Linked DNA regions of Homo sapiens: region 1 is linked to region 2. Evidence: promoter capture Hi-C in 16 types of primary human blood cells and fetal thymus (Javierre and others, 2016). All regions are on one chromosome and are shown on one strand. Each heading gives the region's core, a stretch centred on a gene start or on the middle of the fragment in contact. The rest is flanking DNA. Distances are from core to core; before and after follow the strand shown. Region 1 overlaps TPM3 (tropomyosin 3). Region 2 holds the start of GATAD2B (GATA zinc finger domain containing 2B).

Region 1 (3,551 bases), core at 863-3,362, 260 kb after region 2:
CATCCCCTTAGCTTCACCCTCTAATACAGCGACAATCTTCCCCCTGGCCTCCATCTCACAATGAAGTATATAGGTTAGAGTCCAAGTAAACCCATCCTGGATGGGTTTTCTCTAAGAAACAAGGAAAGAAGGAGGCAGCCTGCAGGTGGATGGATAAATTCTAATGGTAGGAAAACCTCTTTCCATGACTGCCTCCCCGCTACCTTTACTGGTGGGAGGTACCCTGACTGCAACAGTATACAAGAATTTAATATGCCCCGCACACCACCCAGTTCAGATGCTTATCCAAGTGCCTGGTAAACACGATCTCTCTTCTATAGCCCAGATTGTGCCTGAATTCTATTACCCTGATTTCTTCCTGGCAGGCAGGAGTTGGTGCAGCTATAGAAACAGCCTGGGCCACTAGCTCCGATGAGGAAGAATATAGACCAAAAGACTCCTTTTTAACCATCAGGACTGGCACAAAAACTTCCACATACAAACATGAGAAGCTGAAGAGACTAGGAAGGGAAGCAGAGGGCTGGGGCTACAATCTAGCCACCAGGCAAAGAAAATCGAGAAGTCAACATAAGCTGAAATCATTAAGAAACCATTTGTGCCTCTAACTACACTACTCAAAACACCACAAAGACAAGTATTCTCTGCTTCTGCCTCTTCCAGAAAAATAGATGTTCTCTGTAACAACACACATTTCTCCTCACAAACCCAACAAGGCCATGGATCAAGAGCAAGTCAGGCTATCAGGCAAGACCTAGGAGACACTGCTAGTAAAATGACTTACCCCCCTCAGACGAAAAATACAACTAGATTTAGAGGAAGCTCATGAAATGTAAGACATCATGCAGCTCACCAGTAGTTACCCAAACTGGAGTAGAAGATAACAGGCTATGGGGCGGGGGTGTACAGTTGCCATGACAGCAAGCTGGCTCAGGCAGTTTCTCCCACAAATCAGCATTTACAATAGAATTCTTAGCAAGGCTGAAAAGGGAGAGGGGGAAAACACATCTTGGTGCCCTCCTAAGAGCATGCACACATGAACAAGCCTGTATCAAAAGCAGAACCTGAGATGGGAGTCCTAGAAAAAGCTTCAGAGACCCCCTCCAGGGTGGAGTGGTAGGGAATGGGACCTTGCCTTTCTCTTTTCTCCTAGCACAGAGGATCAGTTCTCTTTACAATGAAACAAAAGCCTGCAGAATCAAGATCTGATACTTTGTTTAAAGGAACAAGGAAGACAAGCTGACTTTTCCCTCATGAGTCTATGCACAGTGCCTGTCCCTTTCAGGTCAAATAATACCAATGGGTACCAAGAGATTGAACAGGCCTACTTTTTGCAGACCAGGCTACCTGTGGCCCTGGGAAACGTTAAGCTCTGCACTTTCCTAATCATCTTAGGTTTTAGCATGCCCATCCAGATGCGGTTTTGGTGTTTCAGCTGACCTATCTCTGCCCAGTGTGGAGGATATACAGTACTCTGTGGTTCTTCCCTTCAAGTAATAATAGGATTCTCCACTGCCCAGGAAGCAAAGATCCTGGGTGAGGGATTGGGGAAAGAGTAGAATGCCCCAGCAACTCAGTCACATTACCAGATGGCTGACAACACCTTCGGCTATCCTCCACTCCAAAGAGATTTCCCAAATATGTCAACCCCTCCAGGCAAGAAACTGACAGTGTGATGGTACTCTCAGGCAGAACAGGGCCAAGGACAGAAGGGGATTAGCCTAAATCTGGCTTTCTGCCACACTGGGGTTTCTCTTATTAGATAAAAGCCACAGATAAAATTCAAATGAAAGAGTATCAGAAAGTTAGGCTTGAGCCCTGTGAGTAAAGGACTATTTGAGTTCACTGTGCTCACAAATGCATTACCCAGGGAGATACCGTGTCCTTGGGGAATTTAAACTTCACCAAAGGGGAGGCAAGTTGGAAGGGAGTAGAGCTATCTGCCCCACAGTAAACAAAGGCGGAGCCTAAGCAGGGGTAAAGGGCTATCTGCCTCTCCCCTGTGAGTGTGTGTTCTAGTACTGGGGAAAGAGAAAGGAAAGCAAAGCAACCAAAGAAAGGTTGCTTAGTCCACCAGGCCCACGAATAGAAGAGAACCACACAACAGTCAAGCATTCTAACCTCTCCAGAGACTAGGAATTTAGGATTAAGGCCAGAATCAAAGCCCACTCCCTCGGTAGTACTCTTAAGGTTTTTGTTATTACTTTTTTTTTTCTTTTTGAGGCAGAGGTAGTGTGCTGACCTTACACTCCCGCAGTTGACCCCTCACTCCCCCAGTGCCGATACTCGCCCAGGCTGGAGTACAGTGGCATGATCCAATCCTGGTTCACTGCCACCTCCGCCTCCAGGGTTGAAGCAATTCTTGTGCCTCAGCCTCCCAAGTAGCTGGGATTACAGGCATGCGCCACCATGCCCAGCTAATTTTTTGTATTTTTAGTAGAGATGGGGTTTCATCAGATCCACAGGTGGACCTCAGATCCACCCGCCTAGGCCTCCCAAAGGGCTGGGATTACAGGTGTGAGCCACCGCACCCAGCCTCTTAAGTTTTTTAGACTAGAAAAAAATTAAAAAGAGAAAAATATCAGGGACAATTAGGAGAGAGTTATTAAAAACAGATAAGGTGAACTGTACATTTATAAATGGTTAAAATGGTAAATTTTACATGTATTTTTATCACCACTACCACAAAAAAAAAGAGATAAGGAAAAAGACTGCATTTAAACATTATGTTGCCATCTGTTTCCATTTAGACAGAAGTAAAAAGGAAATACAGAACTGAAAGTAAATTTGACAAGGTGCTACATTATAAAAGACCAATTTCCAGGCCGAGAGCAGAAAAGAAAGATGGATCCTAGAACACCAGTGTCTCAGTTTTAGACTCATCTAGCTTCCCAACAAGGGTGGCTTGGATGTTCACACAAAGTAACCAGGAAAATAATTAAGTGACAATCCCACTAACAGCATGAGATACCATCAGAGAGTGCAGTTTCCCGCTCCAGAGGAGGGAGGAGTCTGCAAAACCCACATTCCAGAATGCCTTAAGAGGATAACAGGTAGCCCAAGCAACCCCCCTCCCTTCCCACAGGTGTCTCCTCCTCAGTAGGGGTTCAAAGTTCAGCAGAGCAGCAGAAAGTCAAAAGATTAAGCTTCTTCAGGCTGGGGAGTAGAAGAAATGATTTCATCAATATTTAACTATAACTCTACTTCCCCATTCTGAGGACTTCCTCACTAGACCTCAGCTCAATAAGCAAATTTGGCAGGCTCTGAGTGAAAGTAGCTTAAGAAACATCACCCCAGGACAGGCGCAGTGGCTCATGCCTGTAATCTCAGCACTTTGGGAGGCTGAGGCAGGCAGATCACTTGAGGTCAGGAGTTTGAAACCAGCCTGGCCAACATGGTGAAACCCCATCTCTACTAAAAATAAAAAAATAAAATAATAAAAAAAAATCGCCGAGTGTGGTGGTGGATGCCTGTAATCCCAGCCACTCAGGAGGCTAAGGCAGGAGAATCACTTGAGCCTGGGAGGTGGAGGTTGCAGTGAGCAGAGATCGTGC
Region 2 (3,609 bases), core at 35-2,534:
GACAACAGAGAAAAGGTTGCTAGCTAGCTCAGTTAGCATCCACATGCCACCCACCACCAAGCCTCCATCTCCACCTCACTGCCAGCCCTATGAGCTAACATCTTGTGTTTGGAAGTTGATGCTGGGGAAGAATCCAAAGAGGCTACCATACCTTTATGAAACGGGAAAGCTGTACCGGGCGCGCGAATGGCACCTGAACCTCTGCACTCGCATGAGTGGCTCGCTCCTCAATGTAATTGAGAGCAGGGAGGCCAAAAGTACTCTAAGTCCCGGTGTGGTTAGGGAAGGGTAAGTTCCACCGACCCTCAGGAACTGAACTGGAAGACAGATCCAGTGTGTCCCACAAGCCCAGTCGCTGTAGAAGCTAAGTGCCCACATAGCCTGAGACAATTCTCTTCCCCTACGGGAGGGCGAGCGAACGGTGGACGACGAAATAAAGGGGTAAGGTTATGCGCTCCTGATCCCTTTCCCTAAATAAAGATAATTATCTGGTGCTTCCTTTACCCTTAGATTCCCCATTCGTCCCATCCGCCCGCAAACACAAGACTGAGCAGGGAGCGGCCCCCGCACCCTGAGGGCACCACTGGGGGTGGAGAGAGTTAAAAAAAAAAAGGGGGGGGCGCGCTAGAGAGGAAAGGAGGGGAGCATGGCGGGCATGAGGCAGGGAGTGAAAGCGGGGATGGCGGGGGAAACGGGGCGTGAGGGAGGGGAGAAAGAGTACAAGGAGACGAAATGAAGGGACACGAGCTGGGGGCGCGCGAGGCCGAAGTGAAAGACCGGGTCGCGCGCGCCAAGGGGGGAGAGGATGAGGTGAAGAAGGAGCGCGAGGCGGGGGCGCGCCGTGCCGGGGTGGGGGGAGGGGGACGCAAGGCGGGGGCGCGCGGGCGGGCGTCGGCTCGCGGGCGCTTCCCCTCCCCCCGCCCCTCCACCTTTCCCTTCCCCCACCTCCGCCACCACTGCCTCCTCCCAGCCTCCTTCCCTTCCTCGCTCCTCACCGCCCCCGGGCGGGCGGGCGGCCAGGCTGGCCTAGGCCAAAGCTCCTCACCTGGCGGTGGCGGTGTAACTCCCGGCTAGCTCGCCTCCTCAGGCGGCGGCGGAGGCGTCGAAAAAGGAAGAGGCGACGGCACAGGGGATCCAGACCCTGCTGACGGGACTAGGGACGGGGGTAGGGGAGGGGGGCGGGCCGGACCGGGGCGGGCGGGCGGAGCAGACACTGCGGTACAGACGGGGGCAGCGGCGGCGGCGACGGCTGCACCGGCGGCGGCGGCACCACACAAACAAGGACGCTGATTGGGCAGCTGCCAAGCGCCTCGGCTCCGCCTTACCCACACGCCACGACGCCCATTGGGCGACCTAAGCCGGCCACCCCGCCCTCATCTTCTCGGCCATGCCAGTAGAAGACTAGATGCCGGGACTTCACCCCACCCTTGAAGAATGAGTGGCCGGAGAAGTGATGATTGGCGTGCTTAAAACCCAATCATAAACGGAGGAGGGGGGATGGTCTAGCGGGGGCGCGTTAATGGGTACCTCTGCCAGTCCCAGACACATCCGGGTCTTCGACAGCCCATTAAGTGTCGGGGGTCAAAAAATCGCTTCAGGCTGCAACTTTACCTTAGAGACGTTTTGGTCCCCAGGCAGCCGCCGTACCCCAGTCTCTCCAAACCGGGATTCCCCTTTGGCCATCTCTCATTCTTTCAATTCTAAAGATGGAGACTGGCGAACGGCGATGGGGTCTGCGGTGGGCGGTGTTTCGTCGCGACAGACTCTAGGAAATTTCACGATAGAACTAGCTTTAGGCGCTTGAGCCTTGCCGTCTTTTTGGGGTGTGGCCTGTCTCCGTCTGCCAAAGGCTTTGAGCTTCCTGGTGTTCATCGTACCTCCGCTTGGTCCTGTCGTGACTAAACCACGACAGCAGGAAAAAAAAAAAAGCAGCTAGCCAAGTTGCTGAGGAATTACGGTGTGCAGAGCCCTCGCAGCTCCTTCTCTTGGGAACTCCTGGTCTGGTTAGGTTCTCAGCGAGGAAACAGCCTCCCACCCCGCCCGATTCCACCTAATTAACTCAAGGGCCAGCTCCTTTTGCTGGCCTCCCTGCTTCCACGGAGCAGTTAGGCCCGCCTAAACTCAGCGAGCGTTTCTGGAGCACCTTGAGGATAGGGACCAAGTAACAGAGTCCGGGTGTTAAGGTTATGATAGTAGTTAACGTTTTTGGAAAGAGACTGTGTCAGGCTCTGTGCTAAGAACTTTACATGAAGTATTTATTCCTCATGACTGTGAGGTAGGTACTGTTATCCCTACTTTACAAATGAGGAAAATTAGGATCAAAAAATTTGTCCAGTTACACGTTAAGTGGTAGAGCTGAAATTTGAACCCAAGTAGATGAGGAAACTAAGGCTCAGAGAGGTTAAGTAACTTGCCAAAGGTCAGACCGCTAGTTAGTGACTAAGCAGTGGTTTAAACCCAGAAACAACTGGTTCCACAGGCATTTTGTTATTGTTGTTTTCTCACTGTGTCTCCCAGGCTGGAGTGCAGTGGTACAATCTCAGTTCCTGCAACCTCCGCCTCCCAGGTTCAAACGATCCTCCTGCCTCAACAGCCTCCCGAGTAGCTGGGATTACAGGCGCGCGGCTAATTTTTGTGTTTTTAGTAGAGACGGGGTTTCGCCATGTTGGCCAGGCTGGTCTCGAACTCCTGACCTCAGGTGATCCTCCTGCCTCAGCCTCCCAAAGTGCTGGGATTACAGGTGTGTGAGCCACCACGCCAGCCTCCACAGGTATTTGAACATGTTTTTTAAATTATTTAAAAGTCATGCTGTGCAATGGAAATGAAATTATAATGGAGGACATGGCAACTTAAAGCCGTAGGTAGATCCTACACAAACACAGACGCACCCATTTTTTTTTTCTTTTTTTTCTTTGAGACAGTCTCCCTCTGTCGCCCAGGCTGGAGTGCAGTGGCGTGATCTCAGCTGCCTGCAATCTCCACCACCCAGGCTCAAGCCATCTTTCCACCTCAGCCTCCCAAGTAGCTGGCATTACAGGCGCACGTGACCACGCCCGGCTGATTTTTGTATTTTTGGTAAAGACAGGGTTTCACTATGTTTCCCAGGCTGGTCTCATAAATTCCTGGCCTCAAGTGATCCACCCGCCTTGGCGTCCCAAAGTGGTGGGATTACAGGCGTGAACAACCGCGCCCACCGCAGCCCCCACTTTATTTATTTTTTAAATTAGCGATGAGGTCTTGCTATGTTACCCAGGCTGCTCTGAAACTCCTGGGCTCAAGAGATCCTCCCGGCCGGGCGCGGTGGCTCAGGCCTGTAATCCCAGCACTTCGGGAGGCCGAGGCAGGTAGATCACGAGGTCAGGAGATCGAGACCATCCTGGCTAACACAGTGAAACCCCGTCTCTACTAAAAATACAAAAAAGTAGCCGGTCGTGGTGGCGGGCGCCTGTAGTCCCAGCTACTCGGGAGGCTGAGGCAGGAGAATGGCGTGAACCCGGGAGGTGGAGTTTGCAGTGAGCCAAGATCTTGCCACTGCATTCCAGCCTGGGCGACAGAGCGAGACTCTGTCTCAAAAAAAAAAAAAAAAAAGAGATCCTCCCACTTCAGCCT

What was found. The method cuts DNA at HindIII sites, captures the fragments that hold promoters and counts their contacts. A CHiCAGO score of 5 or more calls a contact.
Region 1: a contact is called between a fragment that was not itself captured here and the fragment with the promoter of GATAD2B in region 2, in 5 of 17 cell types (M1 macrophages, M0 macrophages, fetal thymus and 2 more). The highest score is 8.8, in M1 macrophages.

Annotation. Positions count from the first base shown.
Region 1 is chr1:154,177,333-154,180,883 of GRCh38, forward strand. The region is part of intron 2 of TPM3 (tropomyosin 3); the gene reads right to left. Among named protein-coding and RNA genes, the nearest start is that of TPM3, 13 kb to the right of the region's middle. RefSeq lists an enhancer at 2,861-3,551. The HindIII fragment of the contact is 2,058 bases long and covers 1,084-3,141 here.
Region 2 is chr1:153,921,688-153,925,296 of GRCh38, forward strand. It overlaps GATAD2B (GATA zinc finger domain containing 2B), which reads right to left and starts at 1,285. Exons shown (of 11, transcript NM_020699.4): 1 at 1,046-1,285. LOC101928059 (a long non-coding RNA gene) reads left to right here and starts at 1,686. Exons shown (of 4, transcript XR_922160.3): 1 at 1,686-2,275. RefSeq lists silencers at 1,069-1,388, 2,066-2,360, 3,419-3,592 and an enhancer at 1,519-1,758. The HindIII fragment of the contact is 8,959 bases long and covers 1-3,609 here.